Regions from separate parts of the Homo sapiens genome. Here all the other regions are linked to region 3. Evidence: promoter capture Hi-C in 16 types of primary human blood cells and fetal thymus (Javierre and others, 2016). All regions are on one chromosome and are shown on one strand. The core of a region is centred on a gene start or on the middle of the fragment in contact, and the rest is flanking DNA. Distances in the headings are between cores, read along the strand shown. Region 1 overlaps LRRFIP1 (LRR binding FLII interacting protein 1). Region 2 overlaps LOC124908001 (a long non-coding RNA gene). Region 3 holds the start of LINC02610 (long intergenic non-protein coding RNA 2610). Region 4 overlaps RBM44 (RNA binding motif protein 44). Region 5 overlaps RAMP1 (receptor activity modifying protein 1). Region 6 has its middle 24 kb from the start of UBE2F-SCLY. Region 7 overlaps RAMP1 (receptor activity modifying protein 1).

Region 1 (3,241 bases), core at 225-2,724, 450 kb before region 3:
TTGATTTTGGAAAATATTCAACCATTAACTCCTTAAATAATTCCTCTTTTTTAGTCTCTCCACTTTCCCCTCTGGAACTCTAATCAGAGGATGTTAGAGATTCTCATTGTCTCCACATTTTTTAACCATCTCTCTTTCATGTTTTCTATCTCCTTACCTCTCTCTATTGGATAATGCCTAAAGTTTTTGCAAAGATTTTCCAGTTCACCATTTTTTTTAAAAAGTGTCTTCATTGTTGATAGTTTCTTGCTGCATGTTCATGTATGTCCTCTTTTTAAATTGTATTCTTATTCTTTAAATATTTCATACACAGCTGTTTGGTTTTCTGTATCTGACAACTGAAACATGCTCAGTCTTTGGGGGTCTAATTCTGTCATTTATTGCTTCTGTTGACTCTCACTCAAATGGTTTGTCACCTTAGTGTTTTGTGAGCTTATGCTTGATTTTAATTTGTAGGAATAACTCCAGGCTTAACTTGTGGAAACTTCCTGCAAAAAGGGCTTGCTTCTGCCTCTGCTAGTGAGGTGGGGTCGGGACTTCTGTCCCAGGACCCAAACAAGCTTCCTTGAGTGTTTTGGGTCGAAAGCAGAGCCATAGACCCTGTTCTTGTCACCCCTCCAAAACCACGTTCTCCCAGCTTAGGGCACCCCACTCTGCCCTGCTGCCTGTGGGTCCAGATGATGCCCTGCTAATGTGGCTTCTGCAGCTCGTCTTCTGCCTGACTCTCAGGCTCCATGGCCCTGGCTCCCAGGTGTGGCCGTCTTGGCCTCAGGCATTCCTGCCTTGGACTCTGGCTGCCAGGGCTGTGGGGACCACCTTCGCCATGCAGTCCAGGCTCAGCTCTTGTTGTTTGTGTTTGTTTACCTCATGCCTCACTTACCTTTTGTGAAACCATCAGGATCCCCACTGGGCGTGTGGCTCACGCCTGTAATCCCAGCACTTTGGGAGGCCGAGGTGGGTAGATCACCTGAGGTCAGGAGTTCAAGACCAGCCTGACCAACATGGTGAAACCCCATCTCTAATAAAATACAAAAAATTAGCCAGGTGTGGTGGTGTGCACCTGTAGTCTCAGCTACTCAGGAGGCTGAGACAAGAGAATTGTTTGAACCCAGAAGGCGGAGGTTGCAGTGAGCCAAGATCACACCGTTATACTCTGGCCTGGGTGACAGAGCGAGACTTTGTCTCAAAAAAAAAAACAAACAAAAAAAGAGGCCGAGCGTGGTGGCTCATGCCTGTAATCCCAGCACTTTGGGAGGCCAAGGCGGACAGATCACGAGGTCAGGAGATCGAGACCATCCTGGCCAACATGGCAAAACCCCGTCTCTACTAAAATACAAAAAATTAACTGAGGGTGGTGGCGCACACCTGTAGTCCCGGGAGGCTGAGGCAGGGGAATCGCTTGAACCCGTGAGGCGGAGCTTGCAGTGAGCCGAGATCACGCCACTGCACTCCAGCCTGGGCGACTGAGCGAGATTCCATCTCAAGAAAAAAAAAAGAAAACCATCAGGATCCCCAAGGGTGTTCCCTCTCTGGAGTCCAGTTGTTTCAGAGGAGGAAGGGCATCATGAGGGACCAGGGGCCAAGTTATCATTTTATTTTTCAGTAGGATTGGAATTTCGGTAACACAGAACCCTGTTATGTTTGGAGGAAACAAGTTCCTTAAAGCTCACTGCCTTTCCTCCGTTCCCAGCTCCGCTCTGCATTGGATAAAACAGAAGAGCTCGAGGTGAGCAACGGCCACTTAGTGAAGCGTCTGGAAAAAATGAAAGCAAATCGGAGTGCACTCTTGTCCCAGCAGTAAATTCCAGCTCTGATCAGGCAACTGGTTGGTGACTGGAGAGCATTGTTTCATAGGCTTTTCTCTGTCCTATCTGGGAGCGCTGCTTCTTCCCCTGCCTTCCGAGAGACGAAGACCGTGGCGAGCTTGGCGCTTAGGGGCTCCCGTGCCATGGCTCACCCCAGGGAGCCCCAGCAGCCACCAGGTGCCTCTGTCTGCAGACCCCTGGCCCGGGCTGGCGCCGACGCTCAGAACCTGCAGGTACTTCATAAGCACACAGGGGCCTCGAGGGAGCTCTGTGTCTGACCGCACAGCAGCCTCTGAATGCCGCTGGAAGTGATGATCAAAGTAAAGATTCAGTTGGGACTTGAGTTTTTTTTTTTTTTCATGTGTCTTGCTGAAGATTAAGGGGAAATGTTACAGTGTTGGGACTTCCTTTCATGGCAGAATCTACAATTTGAGCGACTTCAGTAGTATCTCTTAGTCTACGCTTTTCATACACAAAACACTGTGGAACCACAAGCCATTACCAAGCAAAACTCTTTCACTGGAAACAAGGGGGCAGTCTAGAAGTAAAAGTGACCTTAAGAAGACTCTTTACAGGCAACAAATGAAGCTTTTCTAAGGGATTTTTGCATCAGTTCAGTCATAAGAATACTTTTTTCCAGGGTAATTAGGCAATAGCTTCACTGAAAATGACAGCTTTTCATTGCATTATTTAATCCTTATATTTGGAATTGAAGTCGTTAACTTCTTTTAAAGAATGTACTATTAGAAAAATTAAAAATGAAATGTTGAGAGACTTCAGCAATGTGGTTCTAATTTTTTTCCACTGAGAAAGAAGATCTTTAATTTCATATTAATGGTTCTGTATATTTTGGGTCATCTTTTTATTTTTTAAGAATATCAAGTCAATTCATTTTTCTTTCCCTATTTAAAAAAAAAGGTGTTTTCACAGAATGAGTGCACTTAAAAAGTGAAGTGAAGGAGGAGGTAACAGTAGAGACGATGGCAATATCATCAAGGACAAAAGTAAAAACGTTTAGCTACCTGCTGATTTTTAGTGACTGTTCATATATGTTGTATTTCAAGTATGGCTGGTGAAGCCAGTCAGCTTTTCGGGACGTTAGCAAGTGGAAACTGAGTCAGTATCATCCAAAACCATATCTAGTCTTAACACATGGAGAATGCTGGAGTGAGGGTTGTGAGTTCAGGGTATATAATCAAGAAAACACTCCCAGCATAATGCTAGGGGTCACCAGTGTCCATCCCCCAGAACTGTATGGATCTAGGATATACACAGCTGCGTTGCATTAAGAAAGAGATGAAATCTCTATTAAAATACACAAGATTTTTGTATCTCCTTGTGCAGAGGATATTTGCCACTGCCCATTGGGAAGCAGACAAGTTATAGGGGGCTGGGGGCCAACACTGGCAAGTAGGAAACCACGGGTCGGACAGGTG
Region 2 (3,451 bases), core at 34-2,533, 270 kb before region 3:
ATAATAACGATGATAATCTGAGCCCCCATCTGCCCCAGCTATGGGAAGTTCATCCCTCCCTCATGCCACGGAGGACCCCAGAACTGGGACTTGGGTGTCACCTCTCAGCTTCTGCCCCTCAGACAGCCTCACAGCACTCCACACCACCTCCGGCTGCTTTGTAGTCTCATCTTTGTCCTCCTCTCCAGGTTAGACCCCAGGCCCCAAAAGGCCCAATAAAGCTTTTCCTAACAGAAACACCATTTACCTGTCTCCCCTTTTAGCAAGAGAATGAGCTAGTGGGACATGGGATTTTTGGCATTTATTTTCAGCTTCCTCAGTTGAATTCTAAGGCAAGGCTTACCGTCAGCACAGTTCTCTCTCCCTCCTTTCCCCAGTGATCCCTAAACTCATGTGGGTCAGTGGAGGCTTTGTTCCCCCCTGTCTGGAACAAACCTTAGCGGCCACAGTTGTATCCCTGCCCCTATTCTGTGGTGGTTTACTAAATGCTAGTTTCTCCCATTAGCTGAGGCTTTTGGAGGGCAGGGTCTGTCCCCAACGACACTCAGCCCTTGACAGGTACTTATTATATAGTGCCTGATTTGGATTGAAGTAGATTTGAGAAGGCTCCACAGGGACATGGGGCCTGTATGTGTCCAGGCCTGCACTTGAGTGTCCTGGGCCTTGCTCCCCAGGAACACCAGATGAAGCCGGAGGGCAGATGCACACCTGGGAGTAATCTAGAACAACACAAAACAAGTGGAGCAAGGGCTGGCCAAGGGCTGTGTTGCACCCTTTCTCCCATGTCTACTCCCACGGGAGTTCAGCATCCCCTGGGCTGTTTCCCAATTCACACAACAAGGGCTTGCACCTGGAACATGGCTAAGGTCTTGCCTGGGGTAAGGACACTGTGTCTGGAGGAAGGGGCATGAGCACTGGACCCACTGGGCTTGGTGATGCCAGCTCACCCAGACTGCAGATCGTACCTCTGGAGGCCAATCTTCCACTGAAGCCCGGAGCCAGGAATGCCTACCCCAGTGGGGAATGAATGGAGTGTGCCCCACCCACAGTGAGGGCAGGAGGGAAGAGTGGAGTGGACGGCTAAATGCAGTGGATGCCCCTCCAGGGCTTTCCTGGAAGCAAGGGACACAATGTTTGTTTCTCCAAAATTCATATGTTGATGCCCTAACCCACAGTGTGCTGTATTTGGAGATGGGGCCTCTATGAAAGCAATTAAGGTTAAATGAGGCCCTAACCTGGGGCCCTGACCTGGCAGGATTCGAATCCTTATAAGGAGACAACAGAGAGCTCTCATGCTTGCGTGCCCACTCTCTCTCTCTCTGCCCCAGCACACAGAGGCCGTGTGAGCACAGCCAGATGGCGGCTGCTTACAAGCAAGAGGAGGCCTCAGAACGAACCCTACCTTGCCAGACCTTGATCTTGAACTACCCAGCCTCCAGACTGTGAGAAAATAAACATCTGTTGTGTAAGCCACCCAGTCTGTGGTATTTTATGGCAGCCTAAGCAGAATAAGATGCTGGCAGAGGCCACTTTTCCTGCCTGGGAGACCCTTCCCTCACCCCACAGGTTCCCAGGTCCCTGCACCAGCCCAGGCCAGAGTGCTGCCAGCCCTGGACCAGGCTGAAAATATAGATAGCCCAGGCCATCTCCCCTTCCACATCCTAGCTGGAAGCCTCTGGGGTTGAACTTACAGGGGTGAGGGAGGAAGGGATGCGAGGACATTGTCTCCCCCTGCCCTTCCTTGGGCAACAACACTCCTCTGTGAGGCTCACAGTTGAACTTCCACCCCACTCCCACACACACACACAGTGGTTCTGTGACTGAAGCAGAGCCAGTCCCTCCCAGAGAACATGAAAGTTACAGTTAGGGGCACCAGCCCCCTTTATGTCCTGGATTGTGGAGATGTCTGAGCCCAGGCCCTAGCTCCCTGGAGGCACCTGGTAGGGCAAGGCCAGCCCACAGAGGCCAGGACTCAGGTGACAGGCCTGCAGGCAATACACTCATGGCACCATCTCCAGCTTCCCAGAGCTTACCTCAAGTTCTTTGTATCAGCTGCCTCAAGGTGTGCTGGCTGAGGGCAAATCTCAGAGTCAGACTGCCTGGCTTTAAATCCTAGCTCTGCCATTGTTGGAAATGGGAGTTCGGTGTGGCAAAATCAACACTGAGACAAAGGATCTCTCAGCAAGGCTAGTTTAGTTTCTGCAGAAAGGGTGCCGCTCGCTAGCAGTCTTGCCATGAGAGCACACCTGAACAAAGGAGATGGGGACATTTATAATCTTTGTAACCTGATGCAATCGTCCTATGGCTGTGTCCCATTTCCATTGGCCAGAATGGGACCTCACATTCTAAGCTTGACCTGATTGGCTAACAGCTTGAAACTTTTCTAAATAGGTAAAGAGGAAAGAGGACAAAGGAAAGAGGAAGCTAGTCATGAGAGGGTCAGGAGGGTTTCCAAATAAGCTATGGCAGGCACTATGGTCCCGGGCTGCCTTAACCCTGTCCAGGCATGCCAGGTCAAGTCAGAGCAGCTGCACTGGAACATATATAGATATGCATAAAGCAAAGAAATGACAAGCTCTTTATGGTTTTAAGAAACTTTGAAGAACTTCTCTATTCCTCACAGCCATGTTGGACATGTAAACCAAAAATAAAATTCTAAGCCCCCTAATCGACAGAATGGACCCCTCCTCTTGAACAAGGGGATTCTGAAGAAACCTAAAAAATTAGTTCAGGCCATGATGGGAAGGAGGGGTCAGACATGCTGCATTATACCCTCCTCACTTTGGCATTCAAGCACAGCTCACCAGCATTAACATTAAAACAGAGATCATAAGACTGACAAAACAGGCTGTTTGTACTAATAAGATGCCAAATTCCAACTGACTCTAGTATAGCATCACATGACGGTGGGCCCTGAAAGAAAGAGAAATATTTCACCCCAAAATATATTTCTTTGAGTTTTTTTTTTTTTTTTTTTGTGACAGAGTCTTGCTCTGTCACCCAGGCTGGATTGCAATGGAGCAATCTTGGTTCACTGCAACCTCAGCCTCCCGGGTTCAAGTGATTCTCCTGCCTCAGCCTACTGAGTAGCTGAGATTACAGGCGCCTGCCACCACACCTGGCTAATTTTTGTATTTTAGTAGAGATGGGGTTTCACCATGTTGGTGAGGCTGGTCTCGAACTCCTGACCTCGTGATCCCAAAGTGCTGAGATTACAGGCATGAGCCACCGTGCCCAGCCTTCTTTGACATATTTTGAAATGGCCTTGCAAAGCTGTCTCTTGTGGGGAAAATCTACGTTCTGTAGATTTCCCTTTCCAGATCTTTTTCTGATCCAGGAGAGATTAACCAAGAGTCTGGCATCTTTTTAGGTCTGATAAGAAATACTTACCATCTATTTCTCTGAAGCCTGCTACCAGGAGGCTTCATCTACATAAGAACATTTGTCTATA
Region 3 (3,352 bases), core at 403-2,902:
AAGAGCCACTGCCAGAACCTGAGAAGGAATGGTGGAACAAGAAGAGCAAGAAGACTAGACAGAGAACAATTTTTTGAGATAAGGTCTCACTCCCATTGTCCAGGCCAGAGCACACTGGCGTGATCTCAATTCACCGCAGCCTTGACTTCCCGGGCTCCAGTGATACTCCCACCTCAGCCTCTCGAGTGGCTGGGACTACAGGTGCGGGCCACCATGTCTGGCTAATTTTTTGCATTTTTGGTAGAGATGGAGTCTTGCTATGTTGCCCAGGCTGGTCTTGAACTCCTGGGCTCAAGCGATCTGCCTAACTCAGCCTCCCAAAGTGCCGGGATTACAGGTGTGAGCCACCGTGCTCTGGCAAGAACAATGTTTTAAGAAGCATGAGGATGTTGAGTATCAAATGCCGCAAAGTTCGGGTGAGAAAACTGAAGAGTCTACTCGGCAATCAGGAGTTCATTGGAGACTCTGGCAGAAGTTTTCTATAGTAGAATGGCAGGAAATGTAGCCATACTGAAATTTTGTTAGGGACAAACAGGTGATGAGGAAATGAAGAAAATGAGAATGAAGACTGTTTTTAAGAAACTGGAGTGTGAAGAAAACAGTAGGACAATAAGTAAGAAACCTCAACGGGGTGTGAGGACAAGTTCCCCAGGATAAAGTGGATAAGATGGAGGTTGGCACTTAAGATTTGGAGCAGGTTCAACAGAGAGGAATGGCAAGGTTTGAGGGATGGTTCCTGACGTCTAAGGGCGCATTTAATATTCTTTCAAGGTTAAGGTGGGGCAAGATCTGGAGGAGAGAGGATAGTACCCCAAGTGTCATCATCCATTGACAGGTCAATAGGTAGTACAGCGACATGGGAACAGAGCAGGTGTGCACAGAAAGCATGGTTTCCCAGGGAGGGCAGTATTTTTCCATGAGGATGCAAGAGTGAAAAGCCTGGGAGATTCCACGAAGAGCTGAGGGGCTTCTGAGCCACAGCTTAAACCTTAACCCTCCTCCTCTCAGATACATTCAAATCCAAGTACTGATAATAATCTAGTAAGACCTGGGCTTCCCTGGCTACCGTCTATCAAGGAATGCCAGTGTCTGCCTCTGGGCAGTGCGCGTTGGATTTGGGTTCTCTGCGGGGTCTTGCTGATCTTAAAGACAATGCAGGGGCCTTGTGAGTCTCACCTCTGTACCCCCAGCACATAACAGGTGCTCAACACATTCGCGAGGGGAGCGCTGAGCAAAGCGGAGGCCCGGGTTCCCTCCTGGAGAAACCTGCTTCCCCTCCAAGGCCTCAAGCGTCCGCTCCTTCACTGACCTCAATCGTTGATTTCGGCTGCACTTCCTATCCCTGGGGGAGCTTTCAACGCTCCGCCGTCCAGGCCGCCGGGCCCCGCAGCCCGCGCCCCGCTCTCTAGGGCTGGGCCCCCAGGGGCTGGACGACCTCTCTCGCCTTCGCTTTCTCAAGCGTAAATCGGGCGGCGGGGGCTGCAGAGCCTTCATCTCTTCCTCCGTCCCGGGATGTCGGAGAGACGGCAGCCCAGCCTCCGCCACCGCAAAGCTGCTTAACGGGCAGCGCGAGTCCCTCGGGCACCGTTGGAGGCCGTTGCTCACCGTTGGGCAAGTGCTTTAAGAAGCACGAGGATGTCGAGTGTCAAATGCGGCAAAGGGCTCAGAGCTCGCCGCCAAGGGGCGTGGCCTCCGGGCCGCGGCGGCCTCTGGGAGTTGTAGTCCCGCCTCAACTTGTGGTGGCCTCTTTAAAAAAACAAAAAACAAACAAACAAAAAAACACTGGCGCTTGGGTCCGTCGCTGCCTCGGTGTCCCTGTCGGGCTTCCCAGCAGCGGCCTAGTGGAAAAGTAAAAGATGTCTGAATATATTCGGGTAACCGAAGATGAGAACGATGAGCCCATTGAAATACCATCGGAAGACGATGGGACGGTGCTGCTGTCCACGGTTACAGCCCAGTTTCCAGGGGCGTGTGGGCTTCGCTGCAGGAATCCGGTGTCTCAATGTATGAGAGGTGTCCGGCTGGTAGAAGGAATTCTGCATGCCCCCGATGCTGGCTGGAGAAATCCGGTGTATGTTGTCAACTATCCGAAAGATAACAAAAGAAAAATGGGTGAGACAGAAGCTTCATCAGCAGTGAAAGTGAAAAGACCAGTCCGATTTAATAGTGTTGGGTCTCCCATGGAAAACAACTGAACAGGACCTGAAAGAGTACTGTAGTACCTTTGGAGACGTTCTTATGGTGCGGCAAAGCCAAGATGAGCCTTTGAGAAGCAGAAAAGTGTTTGTGGGGCGCCGTACGGAGGACATGACTGAGGATGAGCTGTGGGAGTTCTTCTCTCAGTATGGGGATGTGATGGATGTCTTCGTCCCCAAGCCGTTCAGGGCCTTTGCCTTTGTTCCATTTGCAGATGATCAGATTGCGCGGTCTCTTTGTGGAGAGGACTCGATGAAAGGAATCAGCGTTCACATATCCAATGCCGAACCCAAGCGCAATAGCAATAGACAGCAAGAAGTGGAAGATTTGGTGGTAATCCAGGTGGCTTTGGGAATCAGGGTGGATTTGGTAAGAGTAGAGGGGGTGGAGCTGGTTTGGGAAACAATCAAGGTAGTAATATGGGTGGTGGGATAAACTTTGGTGCGTTCAGCATTAATCCAGCCATGATGGCTGCCCCCCAGGCAGTGCTGCAGAGCAGTTGGTGTACGATGGGTGTGTTAGCCAGCCAGCGAAGCAGCCAGGCCCATCGGATGATAACCAAAGCCAAGGCAACATGCAGAGGGAGCCAAACCAGGCCTTCGGTTCTGGAAATAACTCTTGTAGTGGTTCTAATTTTGGTGCAACAATTGGTTGGGGATCAGCATCCAATGCAGGGTCGGGCAGTGGTTTTAATGGCGGCTTTGGCTCAAGCATGGATTCTAAGTCTTCTGGCTGGGAACGTAGACAGTGGGGTTGTGGTTGGTTGGTATAGAATGGTTGGAATTCAAATTTTTCTAAACTCATGGTAAGTATATTGTAAAATACATATGTACTAAGAATTTTCAAAATTGGTTTCTTCAGTGTGGAGTATATTCAGTAGTATTTTTGACATTTTTCTTTAGAAAAAGGAACAGCTAAAGGAATTTTATAAGTTTTGTTACATGAAAGGTTGAAATATTGAGTGGTTGAAAGTGAACTGCTGTTTGCCTGATTGGTAAACCAACACACTACAATTGATATCAGAAGGTTTCTCCTGTAATATTTTATCCCTGGACTTGTCAAGTGAGTTCTTTGCATGTTCAAAATGGAAGCCATGAATTAGAACTACATTCTTTATTCCTTGTTTTAATTTGAACCCCACCATATGGATTTTTTT
Region 4 (3,327 bases), core at 819-3,318, 400 kb before region 3:
ATTGAAAATATTTTTTAAAAGCCTGTACTAAACATATACAGACTTTTTGGGAGGCTCATTATTCCCTAAACAATACAGTATAACAAGTATTTACATTGTATTAGGTATTATAACTAATCTAGAGATGATTTAAAGTACACAGAAGGATGTGTGTAGGTTATATGCAAATACTGTGCCATTTTACATAAGGGACTTGAGCATCCTTGGAGTGTCCTAGAACCAGTCCCCCAGGGATACTGAGGGACAACAATTACAGTAATTGATTACTTTGTTTAGATGTAATTTATTCATTTTTGAGCTACAAGAGACTTAACTAACCCAGCCTCTTTAGTTTTTAAGATGATGTGATTAAGGCCCAGAAATCTTAAAACTATATTGCAGGCTCTTAGTCCTCAGTCTAGAAGTGCTGATAGTTGCTGATAACTTTATAATAAACTCTGGGTTAGTAGAAAGGAAACAAAATATTTAACAGTGTTCACATTTTCTCTGAAACATATCAGTACAATAAAGATCATTTCTGTTACATGTTTTTCTCTAAGCAGAAATGAAGAATGTTGAACCCTCACAAAGAGATAAAGGTTATTTGATACATGTTGGTGGCCTCTGCCCTTCAGTATCTGAGGTATACCAGGATTATTTTTTTGAGCTTCATTTTCAAATTTATTAGTTGTTCATATTTGTTGTTTTTTTCTACCTTTCACAAACTTTTATTTCTCTTCTTTTAGGCCGATTTAAGGTCTCATTTCCAAAAATACCAAGTTTCTGAAATTTCAATTTATGATTCTACTAATTACAGGTGTGTTTCCCAACTTTAATCAATGTGCATTATTATGTGTCTGCTGTTTGCCAAAGGTTCTATACCAGATATCAGCCACAGTGGTGATAAAGTCAAGGGTTATTCTCACAGGGTTTCACAGGCCAGGGAAGGGGACATAGGGACAAATAGCTGCAATCTTGAGTTGATACTGTTCTTAACCAGATCTTTTTTTTCATTATACTTTATAACTTGTTAATGGTATACAGGAGAGTTATTGATTTTTGTATACTTTATCTTGCTACATGCCACTTCATAGGGGAAGTAGAGCACATTAGGTAAAAGAACGGCTTCCAGAAATAGATAACATCGGTTCAATTCCCAGCTCTGTCAACAACTTGGTTAATAAATTTAGGCAAGTTACTTAACCTTTCTGTACCTCAGCCTCTTTGTCTATAAAGTGAGGATAATAATACTAACTTCACAGCATTGCTGTGAAACTGTTAGAAGTAAAATATGTGAAACACTAGGAATAAAGCCTGGCACATAGTAGGTGCTCAGAAAATTGTATTTCATTTCACTGTTTCTGATTTCAGTTACTTTTTAGTTGACACTTTTTATATATTTTAGGTAGACAGCTACCTCATTTACATGTAGTCAGTCTGAGTATGTATGTTGCTACTTTCTGTTTTGTGACATTGCCAGATCATTCAAAAGTATTAAATAACAATGGCGATAGCTTAATGGAAATTTTTTTACTGTTTCATTATTAAAAGTGATAGCTGTTTATTTCAGATATAAAATTTTTATCAATTAAGAAAGGATCCTGTTTGTAGTTGGGGTTGCAATTTATTAAAAATGTGTGTCTTAAATGAAGTCATATAATTGTAAGATAATTGTTCAGCTGTAATTATTTAACCTGTTGATATGATGTTAATACATTTCATTAAAGTAGTATTGTAATCCTAGGATTATTACTTGATGTGAAAACTCTTTTAGTATCTTGTTGAATACTTTTTTAAAACTATGTTTTTTTCTTACTTGAAGTATTTTGCATTCTGTGTAGAAATTTAGAAAGTACAATTAAGTGCAAAACTACAAGGAGTTTATAAAAATGTATCCATAGTCCCATCATTTGAAAACAGCCACTCTTCCCGGGATTTGGTATATATCCTTCCATTGACGCTGTCTAGGGCTGATGATTTTATAGGAATAGCTATTGCCCAACTTTCTTGTATATATAATTAAAATTCTGATTAGATTTTCCAACTCTTTGTTTTTGTCTGTATATTTCCCCACTACAAGGTCATAAAGATACACTTTTGCATATTCTGCTAAATATTTAAAATTTTGCCTCTCACATTTAAGCCTTTAAGTTATCTGAAGTTTACGTTTATACATAGGGATTAGTTTTAGGTTTTTAAGTTATGGATAACCAGTTGTCCCCAGACCACTAATCTCTGCAACTCTATCATATATTAGCTTCGCAAATATTTTACATTAGATTTTAATATGAAATTAATAGGAGATAATGTGTAAGAAATACTTTTCTTCTATTTCCCATCTTTAACTTGGTTTTTATTTAGTTATCCTAAATAAATATTCTTCTTAATCCCAAGGTAAGTACAGCAACCTTTTTATTTTTAAAAGCAGTTACTCTTGTGAAAAACGTATTTGCATCAGTAGTTGCAAAATTAAGTTTGATGTAATTTGAAGTCATTAACAACCTTTTGGTTTTCTGCTCTTATGTTTTAGATATGCATCTCTTGCTTTTACAAAAAACAGCGATGCAAAGATAGCTGTGAAAGAAATGAATGGGATAGAAATAAATGGAAAGTCAGTAAATGTGTGGCCTGTTAAAATTCTTGGAGAATATACATCACCACTTTCCTCCAAAAATGGGAATAGAATTAGTTCGAATAATTTAGAGAAAAGCACCAACAAACAAATCCACTCAGAATTCTCCATTTCTAGATTGCCCAGAACTAGGCCACGGCAGCTGGGTTCTGAGCAAGACAGTGAGGTTTTCCCTTCCGACCAGGTTAGTGTTTTTGATAGATCCCTTAAATGGTCTTTGTACGTCATATTGCTGTAAGTAGCTTTGTAGAATAAATAACTTCAATATGCAGTCTTGAAATGGGAATGACAGCATTAATCTGAATTGTTTTCAACCTTGAATCCACCTCAACCTGCTTTTGTACAACTCCAATTGTTCCTGGGGGGAAATCTAGATCTTTGTAGACCAAGCTAACGAAAAACTCGTTTTAACTAGGCTCTTTGCCAGTCTTTCGCCGTCTTTTTATTACTACTCTATAAGTAACTAATTATAATTTCATCTTTATTTTTCTTTCATAGCTAACTTTATCTCATAATTGTTAAAACCGTAAAATGTAGTCATTGTATTTTCATATATTCTCATGTCTCTCTTATGGAGGTAAACACCCTGTGAAAAGTGGTAAAGTTTGCCTTGTTCAGTCTTTTCTCTCCACTGCTCAGCAAATTGCCTGGAGTCCCATAGGCATTCCACAGATTTTAAAAAAAAAATTACGCACAGTAAAATTCAATACTTTTTG
Region 5 (3,392 bases), core at 138-2,637, 320 kb before region 3:
CTTGTTAGGAATTGAGCTGGGTTTGGGATTTGTCATTGTTATGGTTATCTTCAATGTACCATAGGCCTCAAGTACCTCTAGCAATGAGCTGTCATTGCCTTGTGCCCAGGGTTGGGACTAGGGCACTGGAGGAGATTCCTCAGTGTGGTGCCCCACCCTCTGCTTTCAGCTTTCTCTTGCCTGCCTGTGCTGCAGCATGGATCTTACCCCACTTTCTCTCGGCAGTAGACAGCTGCTGCTTGTTATTCTACCAAGGTTATGTTCAAGGCTTGGGGTGGGTTCTCTGTGTACTGGTCCAGCCTCAGTTTAGACAGGCCCTTCCCTGTGCCCTTCACCCCAGCATTCCTACCCCTCTTCCCTGTGGCAAACTCTGTCGGGGTCTTGGGTGTGACTGTCCTGTCCCTTCCCCAGTGAGAAGAGACCTCTGGTGGTGGTGGTGGTGGTGGTGGTGGTGTTTTTGAGACAGAGTCTTGCTCTGTCACCCAGGCTAGAGTGCAGTGGCATGATCTCGGCATGATCTCGGCTCACTGCAACCTCCACCTCCTGGGTTCAAGCGATTCTCTTGCCTCAGACTCCCTCGTAGCTGGGATTACAGGTGCCCGCCACTGTGCCTGGCTAATTTTTGTATTTTTAGTAGAGATAGGGTTTCACCATCTTGGCCAGGCTGGTCTTGAACTCCTGACCTTGTGATCCACCCGCCTCAGCCTCCCAAAGTGCTGGGATTACAGGTGTTAAGCCACCACACCCAGCCAAGGCCTCTGTTTTCTATGGTGCAGGATCGTAGGCCAGGATGGTTTCCTGGTGCCCTTCCAAGGAAAAAGAGTTCCTTCCTATCCTTCCCCTAGCCATGGTGTGTCTTTGTCTGTGCCCTGGGGGTGACAGGCTGTGCTGTTCCTCCCTCAGCAGCCTAAGGCATCTGCTTCCCAGGAGAGAAGAGTCTGGGATGGTGGAAAGGCCTTTGAGCCTGTTCCTACCCTGGCTGCAGCCCTGGTGGCACAACTTCCACAGCAAGCCTGGCATCACACTGGCATCATGGATACGGGGGTGAAGGGGACTCAGCACCTGCCCTAGAGGCACTCAGGCTGCCCCCATGGGGCAAGGGCTCATTCAAGGCTCTCTGGCTTACGGATGCCCACTGTGGCCTCAACCCCCAGTGAGTGCAACTTGGACCCAGACAAGGAAGTGTCCAAGCTGTGGCCAGATCTGGCCACCGAGGGCGAGGGACAGTGGTGAGGTGTGAGACCCGTGCAGTCACACCCTGGCCCTCTCACCTGGCAGCCCTCCAGCCTTCCCAAACCTCCATTTCCCTGTCTACAAAACAATGGGTAACAGCGGTCCCCGAGCATGAGCGAGCTCACACACAGGCCTTGCCGAGCCTGTGCCTGTCATGCAGGGGTACCCAGTGGACCTTCATGATTGCAGCAGTTATCATGGAATGGTGACAACAGTGAATGCCACCAAGACCCCTTCAGGCCATCAGTCCCCAAGAACAGGCTCTGAGCCCCATGAAACGCCAGAGGGGCCTTTCTTCCTGAGTCTCAGGGCTGTTCTGTGAAGCAGGAGGTCACAGGGGGTTGGAGGGAATGCAGGGCTGGAGGCAGAAGGAGCCGGCGTGGTCTGGGCTCTACCCACGGCCAGTGATGTCTCAGAGCCTCAGTTTCCTCTGCTGCAAGAGGCACTTGACACCCACGTCCTGGGTTGGAAGATGACACAGAAAAGCACCGATGGCTGGGTCCACTTGGGTTTTGTCCACTTCATTTCAAAGGGCATCCTGTGGCCTACAAACCCACATCTATGGAGAAAGTTGTTCAGAAACAGATGGCGTTTGCTCTCCCCAGAGAGCCCTGGGGAGCAGAGTCCTGAGAGCACCTAAGGGGCAGGGTGGGAATGAGCTCACCCGCTGTGGCTTCGAGGGTTAAAATTCCTGGAGCAGAGGGGACTCCGCGATGGCTTCTCTCCAAGCCAAGCCCAAGGAACACCCCAATGGCACACCCTCTGCCCGTGCCGCCCAGGCCCCTGGCTCGGCACGGCCACCTCCACTCCCTTCCTTCTAGCCTGGTGGCAGCCATACCTGTGGGTAAAGGCACCTGCAGCCGTGGCAGGATAGGGTCAGAGGCCCTGTGGTGAAGTCCATATGGGGTCACACGTACCCGGTCACACACACAGAATAACACAGTCACACGTGCACACACAGGTTCACACACACAGAATAACACAGTTACACCCACACACAGGGACACACACAGAATAACAGTTACACCCACACACAGGGACACACACAGAATAACACAGTCACACACCCACAGACAATAACAAGTTACGCTCACACACAGGGACACACATACAGAGAATAACACAGTCACACACACACACAATCACACACAGAGAATAACACAGTCACACACACACACAGAGTAACACAGTGTTGCACAGTCACACATAGAATGTCACACACTCAGAGAATAACAGTCACACACAGAGAATAACAGTCACACCCACACACAGTCACACACAGAATAACACAATTACATATACATAGTCACACACACAGTAACACACAGAATAACAGTCACACACACAGAATAACAGTTACACAGTCACACAGAATAACACAGTCACACAGTCACACACAGAATAACAGTCACACAGAATAACACAGCTATACACACACAGTCACACACAGGGAATAACAGCCACTCACAGATAACAGTTACACAGTCACATAGTCACACACAGAGAATAACAGTAACACACAGTCACACAGAAAATAGTCACACACACAGTCACACACAAAATAACAGTCACACAATGTCACACACAGTCACAAAGAGAATAATAGTCACACAGTCACATGCAGAATAACACAGTTACAGCCACACACAGAGAATAACAGTCACACACAGTCACACACACAGAATAACACAGTCATCCACACAGAGTCACACACAGAATAACAGTCACACACACAGAGTCACACACAGTGAATAATAGTCACATACACAGTCACACAGAAAATAGTCACACACACGGTCACACAGAGAATAACACTGTCACACATTGAATAACAGTCACACACAGTCGCACACAGAATAACAGTTACACATAGTCACACACAGTCACACACAAAGAATAACAGTTACAGTCACATACAGAATAACAGTCACACACAGACGCGACACCAGCCTGCGACCTTGCCCAGGGTGGCAGAAGGAGCTGGTGGCAGAGGAGCTGGTGGCAGAGGTTCGGGCCTTATTTGGCCACCCAGCCTGGCTTGTCCTCCTGGTGCAGACAGAGCTGCGAGGGGCCCCACGGCCACGCCAGGGCTTCCTGCACCACGGGCCGCCATGCAGGTCGCCTTGGAGTCCCCTTGGAGCCATCGGGCCCCTGCCCTC
Region 6 (3,652 bases), core at 678-3,177, 290 kb before region 3:
ACATGCACACACACGTGCACACACACACATGCACACACACACACACACAAACACCTTAGTAGCAATAAGCACACTGAGCACTCAAATACTTGTTTTGAACACCATTTCCAATTAAAGGAAGAATTTCAATTATTGTTTTTCTCAACTGTTATCTATTGCCTCGGGCAGCAACAACTAAAGCCTTTGGCTATAAGTGTTTTCCACAAACACTCCCTGCGTAAGTCTTCAACACTGGGAAAGTTCTGGGTCAAAAAAAAATAAAGTGTTTTGAGCTGGTCTTCCAGGGAAGACAGGTCAAATAATGACAGTTCTTTGAGAATGAGGTCTGTTCTGCTCTCTCTGGTGCTGGGGATGTGTGCTGTTACCTGTATGGAAATAAGGAGAGAAGCAAAGGCTATTTATCTACTCAGAGCTTGCTATGACAAGGGAGGAAGCCACTCTCCTGTGTTTCAGCAGACACTCAAAAGCAGGCAGGGGAGTGGGGAAGCTTCGTGCTGGAGAAAAGGGAAGGCTCAGGTGTGTGCAGATTGGAGGCTGTTGACCTAGGGAAGCTGGAGGGCTCGCTAGAAATGGGGCTTCTATATGATTGCTTAGGGGAGCAAATTGACTTTCTCTGGTTGGTCCTCAGCTGGAAGCAGGGACAAAAATTAGGAAAGTGTCTAGTTATTAACCAGTCAACTGGCTGCGTGGGGCCAATTGTCACAGAAGTAATTGTTTTTACTTTGTGGATTGTTTCTAGAGAGAGCAATTGGACCTCCAACAAGTCTGACTTGTAGCATGCTGGCTTCCTGAGTTGTTATGTGCAGATAAGGGTTTGGCTTCCTTCCTGGGCTTGTTGTTACCGGTTGTGGGTGAGAGTTCTGTTTGTGTATATGGCCTGGCCATTGTCTGTATATTTGGTCTCTCTCTTTTTTTTTGAGATGGAGTCTCACTCTGTCACCCAGGCTGGAGTGCGGTGGCGTGATAGCTCACTGCAACCTCCACCTCCCAGGTTCAAGCAATTCTTGTGCCTCAGCCTCCTGATTAGCTGGGATTACAGGCACACGCCATCAGGCTAACTTTTGTATTTTTAGTAGAGACGGGATTTCACCACGTTGGCCAGGATGGTCTCAAACTCCTGACCTCAGATGATCCACCCATGTCGAACTTCCAAAGTGCTGGGATTACAGGCGTGAGCCACTGCACCTAAACTGGCCTCTCATTTTCAAGTTTCCTGCTTTGCTGGGGAGCCAGGGAGGGGAATAGAGTAAGTTAACTGCCACAAAGCCTGCTGCTCTTACAGAGACTCCAGCCCTTCCTTCAGCTCTTCCTCTTATCAAGTGCTTCCTGACTTCTTACAAGTCTTTGTTTAATTTCCAGAGTTCCAAGAAATTAACTCCAGCAGTTTGGGCCAATGTTTTGTTGCTTCTTAGAATGCACAATAATTTCAGGGTTCCTTATTGTATTTTCACTAACATCACTTGCCATATTAATTTTTTTCCTTTTATTATATTAGAAACGGGGGTGTCTCACTATATTGCCCAGGCTGGTCTCGAACGCCTGAGCTCAAGTGATCCTCCTGCCTCGGCCTCCCAAAGTGCTGGCATTGTAGGCATGAGCCACCACACCTGGCTATAAGTAGATTGTTCTTCAGAGGTTATTTTCAGCTGACTTTTGGTTTCCTATCTAATTTTGTAATGGTGGGTAATGAAGCCCCTCTGAACCAAGAAGTTTGTATGCAGCTCATTCTTGTCTTCTGTGATTTTCTTTTCTCTCTCTCTCTGTCTTTCTTAAGTATAATTAGAGAGTTTATTTGGGCCAAATTTGAGGACTGCAACCCAGGAGACATATAGTCAAGTTACCCTGAATATATGTTCCCCTCTTCCATTTTCATCTGTCCTGCCCAGCTCCTGTTAAGTACATAAACTGCCAGTCCCATGGCGTTATTTAAGGGGAGGTACATTTAATACCTTGTCTTTTTAAATCAACATAGTGGCCAATCATAGCACAGGGCCTGGCATAGGGTATTAAGCCTCCTCTTGGCTGACACATTTTTTTTCTAGAGACACAGCAAACACCAGTCATGTGGACAGGGAGCAAGTAGACATCATTGGCTTTGATGGCAGCAATGGCCCATCTGGAGAGGCCACTGTGAAAATGCCAGCTGCAGTGGGGGAGGTGTGGTCAGGGCGGCATGCTCCACAGAACAGGCGGGAGCCCCGGCCCCTACTGAGTCGGCAGGACAGAAGCCCCATGCTCCCAGGCGCAGCTGCAGCCACTCAGCCTCAGCTCCAGACCCAGGCATCCGTGCACTCTTGGGGGCCCAGGAAGCCCCTTACCCCTGCAGGCTTGAAAGTGTCTGCTCCTGCTGCCTGGCTTCCCACTGCTCCCAGTGCCCACTCTATGGTAGAGCAAAGCTGTGGCCCATCCTGGGCACTGTCATGACCTGGCTGAGTGCCTGATTTTGGGATGCTGCTGACATGCCAGCCCCCTGGAACCTTGCCCCCTCTGGACTTTGGGTGTCAACCAGCATGGGAGGGAAGCCAAAGGGGTGCTGAGGGCAGCTCAGTGAGGGCCTGCAGGTGCCCCTCAACATGAACAGCTTGGGTGCCGTGGATGGCACATTGATGGCAGCAGGAGGCAGACAGGCTCCTGAGTGGGAAGAGGAGGGTCCCCAGTGAAGCCCCACATTCAAGCCAGGGACAGCCTGAAGCCTAGGGGCTGGGCTGTCAGTTACAGATGGAGTCCACAGCCTGGAGTGAGAACTTATGGTACTTTTTCCAGGCCCACCTATGGCTGCCCACGGTCAGCACACACTTCCTCCCTTCTAAGCCCATAAAAACCCCAGACTCCCACAGACATCAGGACTACCAGCTGCAGGAAGGAAGGGACGACCTACTTTGGGTCTCCTCAACTTGTCGGGACAACCTGCCTGTGGACAGGAGCTACCCACCCTGGGTCTCATCTCCATTGAGAGCTGGACACTCATCAGGATGCCCTGCCTTCAGAAAGGAGCTACCCACTCCGGATCTCCTCTCTGCTGAGGGCTGCATTCATCAGAACTACCTCCCTGTGGAAACAAACTACCCACTCTGGGTCTCCTGAGAGCTGTTCTGTCACTCATTAAAATTCCTCTCCATCTTTCTCACTCTCCAGTTGCCAACGTACCTCATTCTTCCTGGACATGGGACAAGAACTCACCACATGGTGTGACTGAAAGAGCTGTAACACAAACAGGGCTGAAACATGCCCCCCAACCCCCCACTCACCGTGTTGTGGGCAACAAGAAGGAGAGAAGACCTGTGGCCCTTCAGGAAGCCCAGACATAGGGGGTCCCTGAGCCAGGGCTGTGACACCTTCTTTGGAGCTCTGTGGTTCCTGGTATTGCCAAGCTTCCAGGCACCACCATGCTCCCCTCGTCCAGACATAGGTAACCACAGAGGAAGCCGCCTGCAGTACATCTTATCCAGATGCAGCCTTGCACAGAGTTGGTGCCTGTGCCAGTGCCTGGAGCTGCCTGTCCCATAGCAGCAGCCAGTTCACCTGGCTGTGCACAGTGGCTGGACCCCACACTCACTCCACTTTGCTACTGGCTCACCCTTGTCAGGTGTAAGATCCCGGCCAGTAGCACGAGCTGAGTGCAGCCTGCCAGGCCAAGTGGGCAGAATGAGCC
Region 7 (3,238 bases), core at 31-2,530, 350 kb before region 3:
CCAGAAGTGGGGTCGCAGGACCAAAGGTGAGAGCAGGAGGAATGTGTTAGGTTTTGCAACGTCCCTCCAGAAGGCTGATGCCAGTTTGCATTCCCACCAGCAGCGTATGGGGTGCCCGTTTCCCCAGACCCACCAACAGACTGTGTTGTCGTCCATTAGAGTTGTTACTGTCTGATAAGTGAGAAGTGATGTCTCAGCAGCATGTGAGTTTGCATTTCTGTACTTAGGAGTGAATCCGAACATCTTTCGTATGTTTACAGGCCGTTCTTTTATCTTTTTGGCAAATTGTGTCTTTTCCTATTTTCTATCAGGTCGTTTTTAAAGAGTTCTTTGTATGTTAGATGGGTTAGGCCTTTGTCTCTCGTGTACATTAGAGATTTTCTCCTAGTTTGTTGGTTGTCTTTCAACTTTGTTTTTTTTTTCTTTTGGTGTTTTTGTTGCCACACAATTTTTTTAATGTGGTCAAAACCATCCATCTTTGATCGCCTCTGGATTGGAGTCCTAGTGGAAAGCCCCTCCCCACATGAAGGGAAAAGAGGGATTTGCCACGTTTTCCTCTAGCCTGTGTGGTCCCACTGGTTCCATCGAAATCCTTGGCCCATCGGAGTTTATTCCAGTTTATTCTTGTGTATGGTGTGAACTATGAATCAAATGTTATCTTTTTCTGGATGCGCTACCCACTTGTCCCATTTATGCAAACGTCCATCTCTGCTCCCCGTGACCTGAGATGCCACCTTTGTCATGCACTAAGCTTCCCTGTGCACTTGGCCCGTGCCTTCTTAAATCGTCCCTTTCCCAAACCTTCCTCATCTCACCTGAATCTCATATTGATCTATTCTCCAGAACTATCAATGGGTCCTCACCGCCTGCTGAATGTTTACCTAATTATCCCTTAACTTAGTCCAAGAAACGCGTTTACTGTAGCTGGCGTTTATTACCGCGTGCTGGGCTTTGTGTCGAGCACGTAACGTACATTGGCTTTTTGAGGTCAGCAGCAGCCTGGCGGAGGTGGGGCTGTTGTGATTGCTGCTTCACCTGCCCAGGCTCGCACAGCTGGTACCCATGGCTCCCTCCTGGTTCCCGGCGGAGGTGGAGGGATGCCCTGCCTCCATATAACTGTGGCCTCCTGAGATGGGGATGCAAGCCTTCAGGTGCTGCCTCCGTCCTGGCGATGTCCCTACCAACCTGGTGAGGTCCATCGCATTGAGACACCAAGCCTGGCAGTGGGCCAAGGGCAGCCTTCCAAGGGTCTCCAGTAGCAGCGAGGGCCTGGGGTTCTAGGGTGGGCAAGTTTGTCCAAGTAACTAGTGGAGGGGAAGAGGGCCCTGGAGAGAACACGAAGGCACAAATAGGGTGAGAGGCGCTAGGCTGCCTGCAGGCAGGCCATCACCAGGTGTGGGCAGGTGGCACTGTGTCTGTTGGATGAGCGGGACCCCAAAGTGAGGCTGACCGGCAGGCAGCCAGACAGCCAGGTGGCTGGCCTCAGGGAATGCTCCCAGCCCAAGCAGGGTCCCAGCTGGTCTCAAGGACTGTGAGCCAGGCAGGTGACCTGATGGGGGACACAGGCTCTGGGAAAGGCCCGTCTCTGAGCCAAGTGCAGTTGAGGCTTGGCAGCTGGGGCAGAAGCCAAGCAAGCAGAACCAGGCAATTATTGGGGTCTGGTATCCAAAACCAGGCTGGCATGGAGGCCAGGGGATTCTGAAGGCAGGAGCCTCTGGGCCAGAGCTGCCACATGCCTGCTGCCGCCCAAGGTCATAGCTGTCCCAGGGCCCTGGGCTGGGCCTGCAGGTATCTTGGTATATGGCAGAGGGAAGCTTCCAGACTCTTCTGAAATCAGAGGTCTCATTTAACAACAGCTGCGTGTCAAAGGGGACTCACCTTCCTATGAGCGACGTAGACAAAGGCGGCCGGCCAGCCTTTTATGGGATACACACACAGGAGTAAGTGGGGGCTGAGACATGCTCGTGCCAGCTCCTAGTGCCGGCCCAGAAGTCTTGCTTCCTCTATCAAAGCAGATGGGAAGGAGGCCCCCCGTGATCCCTGCTTTACTCAGGACGTTGAATAGAAGTAAAAAGTGAATGGAAGACTCCTCATGGCCTGGTGCAGTGGCTTTCGCCTGTAATCCCAACACTTTGGGAGGCCAAGGCAGAAGAATTACTTAAGCCCAGGAGTGTGAGAACAGCCTGGACAACAAAGTGAGACTCCATCTCTACAAAAATTTTAAAAATTAGCTGTACATGGTGTTGGACACCTGTAGACCCAGGTGCTTGGGAGGCTGAGGCGGGAGGATCACTCAAGCCTGAGAGGTCAAGGCTGCAGTGAGCCATGATGGTACCACTTGCACTCCAGCCTGGGTGATAGAACCAGACCCTACCTCAAAAAAAAAAAAAAGAAAAGAAAAGAAAAAAAAAAAAGAGGCTCCTCCTCTGCACAGGGGTCATTCCTGGGTCCCTGCCCTGGCCTGTAGGTCCACTTTTTTTTTTTTTTTTTTTTTTTTGCGCATTCAGGGTTTGTAGCCACTGCGCTTGCCCTGGGACCTTGGCTGCCCGGCATGGATCTGCACGCAGGTGCTTGCTGGGTTCCGACAGCCCTTGCCCTGACCGTGACCCCACTCCTCCGCTCATCCTGTTGCTTTGTTACCTGGTTGGTGGATTTTGTCAGGTTGTCTGTTGTGAGCAAGGCTTGGGGGTGATTCCTGAGCCCTTTCTAACACGTGTTGGGTGTCTTCCACTCAGCTACATGGAACAGGTCCCTGAAAAGTGGCTGAATGAGCTCAGCGGGGCCAGGCTCCCCTGCAAGCTGGCTGGGCCGTCATTTACCAGGGGTTATCATCTCATTAAGCTGCAGCCTTGGTTTGCTGATGGAGGCATAATGTGATTTAATGTATTAACTGGAGCTACAATCTAATTTGAGGAGGTATAGAAAACCTGGCAAATGTGTCATCGGGAACTCTCATTTCCAGAGACCTTCCTATGGGTGTAGGGGAGGGAGAGAGAAGGCAGAACAGAGAAGAGAAGAATCTGGAACGTGCTGGACTCGGCTATAAAACATGGGTTTTTAAAAGCCTCACGTCAGATTTCCTCACCTAAATAAGAAATGCTCGGTTGATTTAAGAGGGAAGGGGACACGCCTATTCCACCCCACCCTGTATGGCTTCAGGGTCTGAGTGCCATCTTGGGCAGGGGAAAGGTGTCCTCGGGGAAGATGCCAGAGGATGGGGCCACAGCCTTCCCAGCAT

Evidence for each region. The method cuts DNA at HindIII sites, captures the fragments that hold promoters and counts their contacts. A CHiCAGO score of 5 or more calls a contact.
Region 1: a fragment that was not itself captured here is called in contact with the fragment with the promoter of LINC02610 in region 3 in 3 of 17 cell types (total CD8 T cells, megakaryocytes and total CD4 T cells); the score reaches 5.9 in total CD8 T cells.
Region 2: a fragment that was not itself captured here is called in contact with the fragment with the promoter of LINC02610 in region 3 in 2 of 17 cell types (total B cells and neutrophils); the score reaches 5.5 in total B cells.
Region 4: a fragment that was not itself captured here is called in contact with the fragment with the promoter of LINC02610 in region 3 in 1 of 17 cell types (activated CD4 T cells); the score reaches 5.1 in activated CD4 T cells.
Region 5: a fragment that was not itself captured here is called in contact with the fragment with the promoter of LINC02610 in region 3 in 1 of 17 cell types (total CD4 T cells); the score reaches 5.0 in total CD4 T cells.
Region 6: a fragment that was not itself captured here is called in contact with the fragment with the promoter of LINC02610 in region 3 in 1 of 17 cell types (activated CD4 T cells); the score reaches 6.0 in activated CD4 T cells.
Region 7: a fragment that was not itself captured here is called in contact with the fragment with the promoter of LINC02610 in region 3 in 4 of 17 cell types (activated CD4 T cells, naive CD4 T cells, erythroblasts and 1 more); the score reaches 6.9 in activated CD4 T cells.

What each region holds. Positions count from the first base shown.
Region 1 is chr2:237,777,732-237,780,972 of GRCh38, forward strand. It overlaps LRRFIP1 (LRR binding FLII interacting protein 1), which reads left to right. Exons shown (of 24, transcript NM_001137550.2): 24 at 1,691-3,241. The coding sequence ends at 1,801. Among named protein-coding and RNA genes, the nearest start is that of RBM44, 19 kb to the right of the region's middle. The HindIII fragment of the contact is 1,833 bases long and covers 559-2,391 here.
Region 2 is chr2:237,960,439-237,963,889 of GRCh38, forward strand. It overlaps LOC124908001 (a long non-coding RNA gene), which reads left to right. Exons shown (of 2, transcript XR_007088146.1): 2 at 1,329-1,473. Among named protein-coding and RNA genes, the nearest start is that of UBE2F-SCLY, 4.8 kb to the right of the region's middle. The HindIII fragment of the contact is 2,129 bases long and covers 220-2,348 here.
Region 3 is chr2:238,230,025-238,233,376 of GRCh38, forward strand. It overlaps LINC02610 (long intergenic non-protein coding RNA 2610), which reads right to left and starts at 1,653. Exons shown (of 3, transcript NR_026926.1): 1 at 1,310-1,653. It also overlaps the pseudogene TARDBPP3. The HindIII fragment of the contact is 6,584 bases long and covers 1-2,122 here.
Region 4 is chr2:237,826,708-237,830,034 of GRCh38, forward strand. RBM44 (RNA binding motif protein 44) reads left to right here. Exons shown (of 16, transcript NM_001080504.3): 11 at 543-622; 12 at 726-796; 13 at 2,510-2,795. Among named protein-coding and RNA genes, the nearest start is that of RBM44, 30 kb to the left of the region's middle. The HindIII fragment of the contact is 8,322 bases long and covers 1-3,327 here.
Region 5 is chr2:237,907,986-237,911,377 of GRCh38, forward strand. All of the region lies in intron 2 of RAMP1 (receptor activity modifying protein 1), which reads left to right. Among named protein-coding and RNA genes, the nearest start is that of RAMP1, 50 kb to the left of the region's middle. The HindIII fragment of the contact is 4,100 bases long and covers 1-3,392 here.
Region 6 is chr2:237,941,430-237,945,081 of GRCh38, forward strand. No RefSeq gene overlaps it. Among named protein-coding and RNA genes, the nearest start is that of UBE2F-SCLY, 24 kb to the right of the region's middle. RefSeq lists an enhancer at 1-449. The HindIII fragment of the contact is 2,884 bases long and covers 486-3,369 here.
Region 7 is chr2:237,881,440-237,884,677 of GRCh38, forward strand. The region is part of intron 2 of RAMP1 (receptor activity modifying protein 1); the gene reads left to right. Among named protein-coding and RNA genes, the nearest start is that of RAMP1, 23 kb to the left of the region's middle. RefSeq lists an enhancer at 1,194-1,695. The HindIII fragment of the contact is 1,063 bases long and covers 750-1,812 here.